2 separate regions of the Homo sapiens genome follow, and region 2 is linked to region 1. The links are contacts of gene promoters, found by promoter capture Hi-C in blood cells and fetal thymus (Javierre and others, 2016). All regions are on one chromosome and are shown on one strand. Each heading gives the region's core, a stretch centred on a gene start or on the middle of the fragment in contact. The rest is flanking DNA. Distances are from core to core; before and after follow the strand shown. Region 1 holds the start of CLIC3 (chloride intracellular channel 3). Region 2 holds the start of EXD3 (exonuclease 3'-5' domain containing 3).

What was found. The method cuts DNA at HindIII sites, captures the fragments that hold promoters and counts their contacts. A CHiCAGO score of 5 or more calls a contact.
Region 2: the fragment with the promoter of EXD3 here is called in contact with the fragment with the promoter of CLIC3 in region 1 in 1 of 17 cell types (M0 macrophages); the score reaches 8.6 in M0 macrophages.

The regions. Positions count from the first base shown.
Region 1 is chr9:136,993,714-137,000,569 of GRCh38, forward strand. It overlaps CLIC3 (chloride intracellular channel 3), which reads right to left and starts at 2,855. Exons shown (of 6, transcript NM_004669.3): 1 at 2,798-2,855; 2 at 1,935-2,044; 3 at 1,729-1,854; 4 at 1,473-1,579; 5 at 1,217-1,392; 6 at 895-1,126. The coding sequence starts at 2,830. The coding sequence ends at 968. PAXX (PAXX non-homologous end joining factor) reads left to right here. Exons shown (of 7, transcript NM_183241.3): 7 at 53-263. The coding sequence ends at 92. RefSeq lists an enhancer at 6,453-6,572. The HindIII fragment of the contact is 14,896 bases long and covers 1-6,856 here.
Region 2 is chr9:137,418,298-137,425,027 of GRCh38, forward strand. It overlaps EXD3 (exonuclease 3'-5' domain containing 3), which reads right to left and starts at 4,865. Exons shown (of 22, transcript NM_017820.5): 1 at 4,817-4,865. It overlaps NOXA1 (NADPH oxidase activator 1), which reads left to right and starts at 5,096. Exons shown (of 14, transcript NM_001256067.2): 1 at 5,096-5,409. The coding sequence starts at 5,233. It also overlaps the pseudogene LOC124902354. RefSeq lists silencers at 4,457-4,596, 4,607-4,746, 4,767-5,326. The HindIII fragment of the contact is 6,751 bases long and covers 4,047-6,730 here.

The sequences.
Region 1 (6,856 bases), core at 1,605-4,104:
CACCCCTTTCTCCACACCATAGTGCCATAGTGACACCCCTCTTCCCTCCCAGTAAGAAACCAGCTGGTGGCGTGGACTTCGATGAGACCTGAAGGTGCAGCACAAGCGTGGCCCCGCGGGGAGTCCGCCTATGAGGGGAGAGGCAGTCTTTGAGGCCCCCATCAGAGACCCCCCGCCACCACCTCCACCTGCCTGTCCTGGGCCAGGACTAACACGGCTCCTCAAATTCCTTCCCTGTCAAATAAACAGCTCCCTTGGTTGGAGGCTCTGGTGGGGCTCTGACTCCTGGCACTGGCCTGGGAAGGGATCAGGGAACACCCCTGGGCCTGTGTTCTGGGTGTAGGGCCACAGGATGTGAACAGATGCTGCAGCCTCTCAGCTCCCTGGAGACTTCCTTGCTGGGCCGGAGGGAGGTGAGCACTCTCAGACCGTCCAGCTATTCCAGCCCTGCCAGCCCAGGAGCTGAGAGGGGCCCAGCCAGGCAGGGCCAGGGCTCCCCAAGGCTTAGAACTTTGTTCCCACCCTCCCAGGCCGCACCCAGGTAGGGCACGGAGCCCCGTGGGAGGATGCAGACAGAAGTCCCGTGTAGACCCTGAGACACTGGAAGTGCCCTGCGGGGAGGGGAGCGCCTGCCCCGGGACAGGATTGAGGAATGTGCCAGCCCCCATCCACCTGGGGCACCCCGCCCCACCCCGGCCTGACTGGTTTGGGAGCCCAGTCCGGTCCTGGAGATCCCTGAGGCCACCGGTTGCAGGAGGCCTGGAGTCTGCGCCTTCTTAGCGTGGAGGATGGGACCGGCCCGACCCCCGGCGCTCCTGCCCCTGTGGTTCTGGGCTATCGGGCTGAGCGTCCCACCCTGGGGTTTGGGGATGGGAAGTGATCCCGAGACCTCTGGCCCTTCAGATGTCAGGACACCCTCACTCCCGACAAAGATGCCTTTATTGGGCGACAGACGCGGGGTGGGGCGCTAGCGGGGGTGCACGGCGGGCCGGTAGGCCGCCAGGATCTCGGCGCTGTGCGGACACGTGTATTTGAACTCTTTCTCCTGCATCGCGCTGTCCAGGTAGCGGCGTACGCCGCGCAGCTCCGCGGGGATGGGCGCCTGGCGGAAGTGCGCGCACACCGTCTGCGGGCAGGATCGCGGGGCGCGGTCAGGACCTGCCGTCCCCCAGGCGCGCCGCGGTCACCCTCCCGCCCGCCCACCTTCCGTGCTCACGTCGACGATGTGCAGCTTGGGCAGGAGGCTGCAGTCGGCCAGCGTGAGCCTGTCGCCGTCCAGGAAGCGGCGGCGGGACTCGCGCAGCTGCGGCTCCCCCGCCAGCTCGTGCTCCAGGGGCGCGCGCAGGTAGCTGTCCAGCCTGGCGAGGGCGCGCAGCAGCTGCTGGTACAGGGCTAGGGGGCAGGCGGCGCGGTGAGGACCAGGCCCAGGGCGCCCTCCCGCCTGGGCACCCGACCCCCTGACCCCGCTTCACCTTCGTCCTGCGCGGGCACCGGGTTCTTGATGAACGCGGAGAACTTGTGGAAAACGTCGTTGCCGGCGGTGTTGGACTCCCTGTAACGAGGCGCCAGGCTGGGGAAGCTGCGGGATGAGGGGGTGGGACTCCATTAGACTGGGGGCAGCCCCGTCCCGGCCCCACAGTACCCCCACAGCGCCTTCCTGGGCTCTGTCTTGCGCGCGTCCTCCCTGGGCCCCCCTCTTTTCCCCTCCCACCCTGCCGGGGCTCTCACTCGGGCGGCCCCAGCGTCTCCTCCAGAAAGTCCTCGATCTGCAGCGTGTCTGTCTTGGCGTCGCTGTCATAGAGCAGGATGGGCAGCTGCGAGCCGGGGGCGAAGTCCTTCAGCACGTCCGGGGACCTGCGGGCAGCAGCGGGGTGGGAGGAGGCCGGCCCACCAGTGTGCGAGGCCAGGCGGGGGTCCACAGGATGGGGCCTCACCTGCGCGTGTCCACCGTGGTGAGGGTGAAAGGTACGCCCTTGAGGAGCAGGACCATGAAGAGCCGCTGGCAGGAGGGGCAGTGACCCACGCTCTCCCCGTCCTCACTCGCCTGGGTGGGTGGAGCGGGGGTGGGGGGTCAGGGCTGGAAGCAGACCCAGGCATCCTGCCGCCAGGCTGGGCGGGACCCGCCTCCCACTGCCAGTGGGATTGGAGGGACGCCAGGGCTCCAGCTTGGTCGGCGCGACTTCCAAGTGCCCAGTGAGGGCCCTTGACTTGGTCCCCAGAACGTGGGGAGGGGGGCAGAGCTGCTGGGAGCCTTGAGGCCTGGGGCAGGCTTGGCCCCTGGAATCTTGTCAGAGCCTGGACAGAGGCCAGGCCCCTGGGCTCAGTCCCCAAAAGCTGGTTGCAGGGGTGGGGTGGGCCTCACAAGCTGTTTTCTGAGTGATTCACACATGAGACTGGGCACTGTGGCCAACAGCACATCAGTCCCCCACCCCAGTCCCCGACCTGAGAGCTGATGGGGCTGCCTGGCCCAGCACCCCCCATCCTGGAACACCGACCGTAAGCTCCACTGTTGGCAGCCTGCTTGGTACCTCCCCACCAAGGAGCTCTCCTCCAGAAGACTGGGCTGGGCCCAGGAGCCAAGGCTGGGAGCAGGACCAGGGCCACTGACCCCTCTCTGGGTGACTCGCTGGGTCCCACTTTACTCAGCCTCTGTAGGGCTGCCTGAGTCCCCCTAGCCACCCACAGGAAGGGGCTCAGACATTACTGGGAGGCCCACCCCACAGCCTGCCACAGAAAGCAAAGCCCAGAAAAGCGCTTCCTCCCAGACACCCTCCCCGCAGCTGAGTCCGCCCTGCACCTTGACAAACAGCTGGAGCTTGGTCTCCGCCATGGTGGGAGCTGCCGCGGTCAGGCGCGGGTGGGGACCTGGGGAGCTCTTTAAGTCTCCCTGTGCGCCCCGCCCTCCCTGGCCGAGGGGCCCGCCCCGTGGAGCCACCTAGGCGGGCAGATGAAGCTGCCCAGCGCGCAGAACCAGCTGCCTGAGCAACGCCAGCCCGGCCCCGGGGTGTCTGAGCCTGAGGGTGTGACCTCAGGGTGGCGGAATGGTGTGGGGGGCTGCCCTGGACTTGAGTCTGGTGTGCACGGAGATCCGCCCACCCGGTACTGAGTGTGCTGGGAGCCAGCGTGGTGGGTGGAGACCAGGGGGCAGGGCATAGGGAGAGCCTACAGGCCAGAAGGGTGCAGGGGGTGTCACCTGGGAAGGGGGCGGCTCTGGGTCAGGACCACCTCCACCGTGAACCCAGCTCAGACCCTGCCCTATGGCTCTCCCTTCCGCAAATACCCCTTGTCAGGGCTCCCAGCCCAGAAAGCCAGTGGGTGTGGGTGAGCAGGAGAAATGGCCTGCCCAGCCTGGCTTCAGTTCCCCATCTGCAGCACCAGGGCATCGGGAGGGTGATAAGCCCACCTGGGGGAGCCGCCCCTTCCCAGCTACGGAGCAGTCAGGCAGGGCCCTCCCCGCTCAGGGCAGGGCTCAAATTCCAGACCTGCCCGCAACAGGGCGGGGAGGCCAGCCTGGCTTTGGTGTTTGGCCGGCAGTGCAGGTCTCCACCCCACCTCCCATCCCTCCCACTGGCGCTCAGCGCAGGTTTCTTACCCCCAACCCCTTAACCTTTAAAAAGAAGCAGCAGGAGAGGGGTTAGAAGCCACAGCCTGCGTGGCTGGAAGAAAGAGGCCAGGGGAGGGTGGTGGTCCACAGGTGTGAGCCTGCGCTGAGCCTCCTGGCGTGATTGGAACCCACAGTTCAGTCTGGCCCTTTGGGGTCGCCAACTGTGCCTTCCTCCCACCTGGCCCTGACGCTTTAGGGTGCAGCCCCAGGGAGGTACACCGAGGGGAGATTCCACCCAGAGACCTGGGGTGCCCACAGGATTGGCCTGGCCACACCTCCCCCAGGCGGTGTGGTGCCTCACCAGCCTGGACAGGGCAGCTGAGGTGGCACTGCTCTCCTGCTCACCTTCTCCCCAGGGCCTTGGTACGGGCCCCTCATCCGTCCCCGGTGGAACACACTCCAGTGCTGCCCCAGTCAGCCCAGCCTGATGCTTCTCTGGATACCACGCCAGTCGGGGCTCCTGGACACAGAGCCTTGGAAATACCATGTGGCTGCCCCATCCTTTGGTGTCCTGAACCTCAATTTCCCTCCATCCGGCCTCCACCTCGATTCCAAGCCCTAGTATTTCAGCTCTTTCTGGACACTGTGGTTATAGCTCCGCTTGCTGGTTTCCCACATCCCTGGCAGGCAAATGGCCAACCACAGAGAAGCCCCAGGCCCCCAGCCCCCTCTGCTGCCCCGGCATCCTGTGTCTTTAACACCGACAGACGCACCCTCACAAACCCACAGGAAAAATGACGGCACGGACAGAGGCCGTGAACCGGTGGCTCAGAAGGAAAAAGAAAACAAGACACAGGAAGACCATTCACCTCACGCCCGTCTCAAGAAACAAACCAACAAGACTCGGTTCACCGCTGCAGCGGCCCCACTGCGTTCTGTGGGCGTGGGCTGTGGACTGTGGAGCGGCAGTGGCCATCCAACACCCCCCTGTGCCCTCGCCACCTGGGAATCAGCCCGGTGGCTTCCTTTTTTTTTTATGGTTTAATCAATTCATTTATTTACTAGAAACAGGGTCCTGCCATGTTGCCCAGGCTGGTCTCCACCTCATGGGCTCAAGTGACCCACCTGCCTTGGTCTCCCACAGTGCTGGAACTACAGGCGCGAGCTGCCACACCCGGCCGGTTTCCCTGTGAAGGGCAAGTGAGTGCTGGCTGCCCCACTGCGTGGCGTGGCGTGGCGTGGCGTGGCTCCGTGGCACGGCCACCACCCTGTCTATGGGAGACTCCAGTTGTGTCCAGGGAGAAGGACGGAAAAGGTGACTCCATGCATGCCCACTGCAGGGAGGGCCTGAGATTAGGTAAATGGCGTGGCTTGTGTCCCCTTAAATTTAAATTCTTAGGCTGGAGTCCTAACCCCTAGTGCCTCAGAATGTGACCTTATATGGGCCGGGCACGGTGACTCATGCCTGTAATCCCAGCAGTCTGGGAGGCCGAGGGGGGTGGATCACCTGAGGTCAGGAGTTTGAGACCAGCCTGACCAACATGGTGAAACCCCGTCTCTACTAAAAATACAAAAATTAGCCAGGCATAGTGGCAGGCACCTGTAATCCCAGCTACTCGGGAAGCTGAGGCAGGAGAAGTGCTTGAACCCGGGAGACAGAGTTGCAGTGAGCAGAGATAGTGCCACTGCATTCCAGCCTGGGCAACAGAGCAAGACTCCATCTTGGAAAAAAAATAAAGAATGTGACCTTATGTGGAAACAGGGGCTTTTTAACATTTTTTTTGAGACAGAGTCTTGCTCTGTTGCCCAGGCTGGAATGCAGTGGTGCAATCTCGGCTCACTGCAACTTCTGCCTCCTGGGTTCAAGCAATTCTACTTTCTCAGCCTCTGGAGTAGCTGGGATTACAGGTACACGTCACCACGCTGAGCTTTTTTTTTTTTTCCTTGTATTTGTAGTAGAGACAGGGTTTCACCATGTTGATCAGGCTGGTCTCGAACTCCTGACCTCAGAAGATCTACCCACCTTGGCCTCCCAAAATGCTGGGAATACAGGTGTGAGCCACCGCACCCGGCTGAAATAGGGTCTTTATAGAAGTTATCAAGTTAAAATGTGGTGAGTAGGATGTGCCCTGATCCAATATGACTGATGTCAGTATAGAAAGGCGAGTTTGGACACAGATGCACAGGGAGGGCCGCAGGCAGAAATCAGGGTGGCACATCTGTAAGCCTGGGAGCCAAGCGGATGCTCTCCAAGGCCCTTGGGAGGAAGCAGCCCTGCCCAAGCCTAGGTGCTATGTCTGACCTCCAGACTGCTAGGCAGTGAGCTTCTGTTTTTTTTGTTTTTTTTTTTTAATGAGATGCAGTCTTGCTCTGTCGCCCAGGCTGGAGTGCAGTGGCACAATCTCGGCTCACTGCAAGTTCTGCCTCCCCAGGTTCACGCCATTCTCCTGTCTCAGCCTCCCAAGTAGCTGGGACTACAGGCGCCCGCTACCACACCTGGCTAATTTTTGTATTTTTAGTAGAGACGGGGTTTCACTGCGTTAGCCAGGATGGTCTCGATCTCCTGACCTCGTGATCCGCTCGCCTCGGCCTCCCAAAGTGCTGGGATTACAGGCGTGAGCTCCCGCGCCCCGCGGTGTTGTTGTTTTAAGATGGAGTCTCACTGTCACCCAGGCTGGAGTGCAATGGCTCAATCTCGGCTCATTGCAACCCGCGCCTCACCGGCTGAAGCGATTCTCCTGCCCCAGCCTCCCGAGTAGCTGGGATTACAGGCGCCCACCACCACGCCTGGCTAATTTTTGTATTTTTAGTAGAGACGGGGTTTCACCATGTTGGTCAGGCTGGTCTCAAACTCCTGACCTCAAGTGATCCGCCCACCTCGGCCTCCCAAAGTCAGTTTCTGTTGTTTTAAACCCCTCACTTTGTGGTCCTTTGCATGGCAGCGCCAGCAAGCTAATAAGTAAAGCAGGGAGAAGCCAGGAAATGGAAGAAAATCAGCATTAGGATCTGTCATTCTGAGTCTCTACTTGAACAGAGCTGAAAAAAGACGCAAGGAGCTGTCTGTGGGATGACCCCTGACAGGCAGAAACAGGCTTTCAGTTTTGCTTCCTGTCTGTCCACACTGTTTGCATTTTCTACCACATTTTTGTAATACCACATTTTCTACCACAATTTCATAATGTTTTGAAGTAAGAACAGTATCACAGCCACTAACCTTAACTAGACCCTGGTCCCCGAGGCCACGGGGTTATCCCTAAACCTCCCGTCCCCTGCAGCCCCTGCTCCTGATTCATAGAGCCAGCGTTAGAGGGG
Region 2 (6,730 bases), core at 3,615-6,114, 430 kb after region 1:
CGAGACTGCGCCACTGCACTCCAGCCTGGGCGACAAGAGCGAGACTCTGTCTCAAAAAACAAACAACAAACAAACAAACGTCTGAGTCATTTCTAAGTAAAACACTGAAACATTAATTACTAAGCGTAAGTTTAAGCTTATATACTTTAGTATCTTATTTTTATATGGCATAGGAAAGCTAAATATATTTACATCTGTTAACAAAAAAATTTAGGAGATGCATCTCTGTAAAACATGATGAAATGGTTTCCATCTACACATACAGTTCAAAATTACTCGCTGAGTTTTTAACGGAAAATTAGGGTCACGAAGTTAACACTGTAATTAATATATGTAACTGAAACTACTAAATATAAGAGAAACAATTCTGTACGTGAGATGTATAAGAAAAGCAGAGTTTGTTTTTCTTTTGAACAACATTTCGTGTAGTAATAAGAGATTGTAAAATATTTTTATCTTCTGAGTAAACAGAAAAAAAAAAAGGGGAAAGAGGGAGAGACATTCTGTTTGCCTCACGCTGTCTTTAGTAGGTCTATTGATTGCTTGGGAAACTAAGTCTCCTCTCTGTCATAGTAAAGGTTTTTGGTTTGGGAAATCTCTGAATTACCAATTTGATTAAATGAATGGCTTATTTTACAGTGACCTGTGGTCCTATTTTGAGATTGTTTTAAGCCTCTGATATTTGACTTCCCAAAACCAAATTTCAAGTCCTAACATTAAGGGTTTTTTTCACCTGAACTAACTTGGATATAACAAATAGGAACCCCGAGAAGTCCAAGGGAGATGTACGAGGCTTATGTGGTATGTTAAAATCATACAGGAAGCATTGTCAAATGTGGAATGCTGTTGGAGTTATATTGGTATAAATGTATTATTAACATATGTTCCAAAATTGTATGAGATTCCTAAAAATTCTGACATGTCTTGGTATATGTTATCAGTCGTGATTACGATTATATGTTAAACTGTTTTAACCTCAGAAGTAACCAAATTCCCTGCCAATCGCGTCTTCACCCATGGCTACTCTAAGTCTTTTGTCATCTGCAGAAAATTACTGTTTTACTTTGATTCTTCTCAAAATGCAGTTTAAGGCCGGGCACGGTGGCTCATGCCTGTAATCCCAACACTTCGGGAGGCTGAGGCGGGTGGATCACTTGAGGTCAGGAGTTCGAAACCAGCCAGGCCAATGTGGTAAAACCCCGTTTCTACTAAAAATACAAAATTAGCTGGGCATGGTGGCTCATGCCTGTAATCCCAGTTACTTGGGAGGCTGAGACAGGAGAATCGCTTGAACCTGGGAGGCGGAGGTTGCAGTGAGCCAAGATCGCACCACTACACTCCAGCCTGGGCAACAGAGCGAGACTCCATCTCAAAATAAATAAATAAATAAAATAAAATAAGGTACAGTCCAAAATTTGCATTTTCTTCAAGGAAATTCATGGAAAGGACATTGACAAGTATACAGACTTCCGATAACCTGGGAGATCACACCAGTAGACCAGATAAAAACTTCCAGGACTCTTATTTAAAAGCTGATGCATTCATGAGGATTGTTAACCCAACATCATACAGAAAAAAGCGGCCGGGCGCGGTGGCTCATGCCTGTAATCCCAGCACTTTGGGAGGCCAAGGCGGGCGGATCACGAGGTCAGGAGATCGAGACCATCCTGGCTAATACGGTGAAACCCCATCTCTACTAAAAATACAAAAAAATTAGCCGGGCATGGTGGCAGGTGCCTGTAGTCCCAGCTACTCGGGAGGCTGAGGCTGGTGAATGGCGTGAACCCGGGAGGCGGAGCTGGCAGTGAGCCGAGATTGTACCACTGCACTCCAGCCTGGGCGACAGAGGGAGACTCCGCCTAAAAAAAAAACAAAAAAAACCCCAGCAAATTACATAGAACTGAACTGATAGAGGCCTGAAATGCTTTTTATGATTTTTTGTTGTTATCGAAACCTTGCTGACTCTTTTTATATTTTGTTTTCCAGAGTCAGAAAACCTTTTTCTTTTTGAGCTATTTATAGCTATAGCAATTGAGTGACATATACTTTTGTGAGCAAAACTGAAATATTTGTCTTTTTCTCTACCTGATTTCTCAAAAATCTGGAAGCGATTCATGAGTATTCTTATTTTATGGCAATGTAGTTCTTTGCATGAGTTCAGTAAGAATCTGTTGTCCTTGTAACAGGACACAATTGGAGACCCTGGTTATTCTACCAAGGCTTGGACTGGGATGACGTATTTTTGGATATGACGAGACTGCTTTGAGGAATCGAGGTTCGCTTTATAGAGCCAATAAAAAGCCCCTTGGGATGACTGGACTGGTGCCCTGTTTACATAGTTCCCTTAAAAGGTTCTTGGCCTTGAGGTAAGGAAAGAATGTCACTTTCCGACAGATCCAGGAACTTCAAGATAGTTTGGGACCTGGAGGACAGACATTCACCCCCCCCCCCAAATTCATACAGGTATTATACATACACTGTGATGGGGAGCCACTGGCTTGGCTTCCTAGACATGGGAAGTGTTTGTTTTGTTTAGAGACAGGGTCTCGCTCTGTCACCCAGGCTGGAGTGCAGTGGTGCGATCATAGCTCACTGCAGCCTCAATCTCCTGGACTCAAGCGATCCTCCCATTTCAGCCTCCTGAGTAGCTGGGACTACAGGTGAGCACCACTATGCCCAGGTAATTTTTAAATTTTTTGTGGAGACAGGGACCTCGCTATGTTGCCCAGGTTGGTCTCAAACTCCTGGGCTCAATGAATCCTCCCACCTTGGCCTCCCAAAGTGCTGGGATTACAGGCATGAGCCACCATGCCCAGCCCTCAAGTGGCTTTTAAAGGTCTATTCTGACCCTCTTGTAGTTCATAAGCATGATGATTGCCTCATGTGTAGGGTCTGTCTCCTTCAAACGCTGTTATGACGCCAGCACATTACCTGTCTGATGTGGGGAAAAAAAGTCTGAAATTCCTTATGGCAAAGTTCCAGCCAGTTTAGAAAGGAGCCTATATGGCCAATCACCACTGTTGTACTTTAGGCAAATAATCAGGCCAAATATAATCCTAAAATTTATTTTACAAGTAAATTGGTCTTACCAAGATTTATCTTTGGTAGAAATGGGGAAGTAGAGAAAAATTATGTTTCAGAGAAAAACTACAGCATACCTGTTACTGGATTCTAGCCCTGATCATTGTATTTTTTATTTTCCTACAATCTGGACTAAATCCTGAACAATCTTCTGGCTACAAGTCTCAAAGAAGAACCTGGCTGGGCAGAGGTTCACACCTATAACCCCAGCACTTTGGGAGGCCCAGATGAGAGGATCACTTGGGCTCAGGAGTTCGAGACTAGCCTGGGCAAGGTGTCAAGACCTAGTCTCTACCAAAAAAATTTAAAATTAGCCGGTCCTGGTGGCAAACACCTGTATTCCCAGGTACTCAGGAGGCTAAGACAAGAGGATCATTTAAGCCCAAGAGTTCAAGGCTGCGATGAGTGGGAATCGTGCCTCTGCACTCCAGCATGGGTGACAGAGCAAGACCCCATTTCTAAGTAAACAAATAAATAAAAAGAAAGAAGAACATGGATTTTAGTTTCTTCATGTTTTTAGTTGTCTCCCTAATGGAACAGGTTTGTTTTTTTCATCCTGGCATACAAATTGGTTATAGTCCTATGTGTTACTTCTGAGAAAATTAAAATTAATGGTGTTTCTAAAAACTAGAGATGATTCAACAGGTGACAGCAGTTGTATAAATTAATGACTTCACTGAGACCTCATGTTTGCCACCCTGTAATGCCATTCCAATTCAGTTTGTGGTGTTCTTAAAAAAAAAAAAAAAAAAAAAACTCCCTGAAATGTCTCCTCCTTCCCTGCTTGGCATGGGACAGGACTATGTGGGAATGAGCCTTCCCAGCAAGAGGGGACACTCTGACCCTCAGATTTTGATAATCAATGCTTTCAAGAAGAAAGATTTTGATCAAAAGGGGGGCAAATGAGAAAGAAAAAAATCATTTATCTGAGGAATGTAAAGCCCTTTTAAACTGTGGGCCCAGAAAGCTTGATGTTAAGTGCCAGAAAGCATTTCAAATGAAACCGCAGCCCCTCACTACCCCTCGAGCCAAGTAACTATCCACTGATGACACCAAGCCGTGGTCAATCGCGAACCAATGCCATTTCTACAAGCCAGTGAGCTCCTGGGCAACGTTCGAAACCACCTGCTCTCCGATGGGCTCTGTTTTCTTTAAAAACCTGAGCCTCTGTTTTGTTCTCCGTTGCACCTGGTGACCCAGGCCGCCCTCGACCTCTGTGCCTGAATAAACCCACCGGGCACCACATTCTGACCCTTTTAATTATTTTAGGTTGACAACTAATACAGGACTCAGCGCCGGTGGACAGGAAGCCAGGGCCCCTGCAGGGAGGCGCCCGTCCCTTCTCCCGGGGAGGGCAGGGCGGGCGCGCGCGCGTCCCACCGGGAGCGCCTCCTCCTCGGCGAGGGAGCGAAGGGCCTCCGGGTCCTGTGATGTCCGTGCTCGGAAGGCGCGGAGGAGGGCAGGCCCTGCGGGACAGGGCGGCGGGGTCGCCGGGGTCGGCTCAGCTCCCCGCGGCGTCCGGCTGCTCGGCGGCCTCCGGAGCGGGGCCCTGCGGGAGAACGCACCTTCCCCGCCCCATCGGGGCCTCAGTTTCCCCACCCCGGGAGAGCCGGCGGCCCGCCCCCGGCTCACTCCCAGCTACGGCCCTCACCTCAGGACGCGCACCCGGCCCGGCCCCGCTCTGCCCCCGGCGCCCAGACCGCCCACCTGGCCCGCGCGGCCCGGGGTCGCTCACCTGCGGGGCCGGGACCGCCCCACACCGTCCACGCCCGGCGCGGAACCTTGGCCCGACCGCAGCCGCTGGCCCGGAGGGCTTTATCCGGCGCACCAAGGCCAGCGCGGGCGGGGCGAGGAAGCCGGGCGCACAAAGCTCCCGGCGGAAGTCCGGCCGGGGCGGGGGCCGAATGGGAGGTGGGCGAGGCCTGAGGGTCTGGAGTGGGCGTAGCCGTTTCTGGCGGGGGCGTGGCCTTACCGGGGAGGGGCGGGCGCCTGCCGCCAGGGGGCGCCGCGGGGCAGCGGGGTTGCACCTGGCGCTTGGCGCCCGCACCTCTGCCCGCCTCGGAGACCCCGCAGCCCCGCGCCGCCGCCTGGCCCCGGCCCCGGCCCCTCCGCGGGATCCTGGCCCCTCCTCGAGCGCCGCCACCGGCCGCCATGGCCTCTCTGGGGGACCTGGTGCGCGCCTGGCACCTGGGCGCGCAGGCTGTGGATCGTGGGGACTGGGCCCGCGCCTTGCACCTCTTCTCGGGCGTCCCGGCGCCGCCCGCCAGGCTGTGCTTCAACGCGGGCTGCGTGCACCTGCTGGCCGGGGACCCCGAGGCCGCGCTGCGGGTGAGCGGGGCGTGGGGAGGCCGGTGCGGGCGACGCCTCCGCCTCGAGCCCCTGGGGAGGGCCCAGCGCCCCTCCCCGACCGTCACGGGGTCGCCCTGCCGCCCCCGACCCAGCGAACGCCCCGGCAGGTGGGAGCCGAGCAGGGGGGCCGCACCTGAGCTAAGCGAGGCCGCGCTGGGGGGCGCGGCGGTCACCGGGAGAGGCCGGGGCCCGAGGGTGACTCACACCGGGAAGGGGGAAGCTGCTGGGCTGGGTCAGGCCCGAGGGACCGCCCTGCCCTAAGGGGAAAGCGTTGCGCCTGTGGTCATGGCCGGGAGACCGGGTCAGTCTCCTCCTCAGAGCCCTCAGCCCTCCCCCAGCCCACTCCCCGAAACAGCCAGGAGTCCAGGGTGCCAGGGTGCAGCGGCCGAGGCCCTGCACGGAGCCCGGTGCCCTTCTCGTGCCCCCTCGCGTTCCGGGGCCGCCTGTTCCTGCGCATCCCAAACGCCAGCGCTGCCCACCCCCGCTCAGTCCCAAGCACCCCGCAGAAGCAGGCAGGTGCCCACGGTTACTGAAGGCTCGGTGACAGCAGTGATTTAAAGGAGAGGGAACTGCGCGCTGTGGGAGGGTCTCCACGCCCCTGACTGGCAAAATATCCCCCTTGGAGGAGACTGGGCAAAGCGCATGAGACCCCCCTCTCTTGTGTCTTAAAGCTGCGTACAAATTTACAATCACCTCCATAATGATTTCATTTTTTTGTTTGTTTCAAAGATGGAGTCTCGTTCTGTCACCCAGGCTGAATGGAGTGCCGTGGCCCAATCTTGGCTCACTGCAACCTCTGCCTCCCGGGTTCAAGCAATTCTCCTGCCTCAGCCTCCCTAGTTGCTGGGAGTACAGGCGCCCACTACCACGCCTGGCTAATTTAGTATTTTTAGTAGAAACGGGTTTCACCATGTTGGTCAGGCTGGTCTTGAACTCCTGACCTCAGGTGATCCACCCTCCTCGGCCACCCATAGTGGTGGGATTACACATGTGAGCCACCTTGTCCGGCCCACAATGATTTCATTTTAAAATGTTATCCAAGAAAGGGAATGTAATCTTTAGACACCAGGTGGTTCAGCAACAAATCCTATGTCCGGGGCTAACCCAGTCACTTGTGCTCTTGTGCCTGGTTTCACTACAGAGAGGGGACGCAGTGAAAGTCATACGACTAACCCACAGCATATGCATGTTAGGAATATGGGAACTTAGGAAAGCAGATGGAACAGCTATGATTCATAAAGCCGATCACGTGAGGGGCAGCCCAGGGTGCAGAGGGTGTCGCTGGAACTGCTGTCTCTTG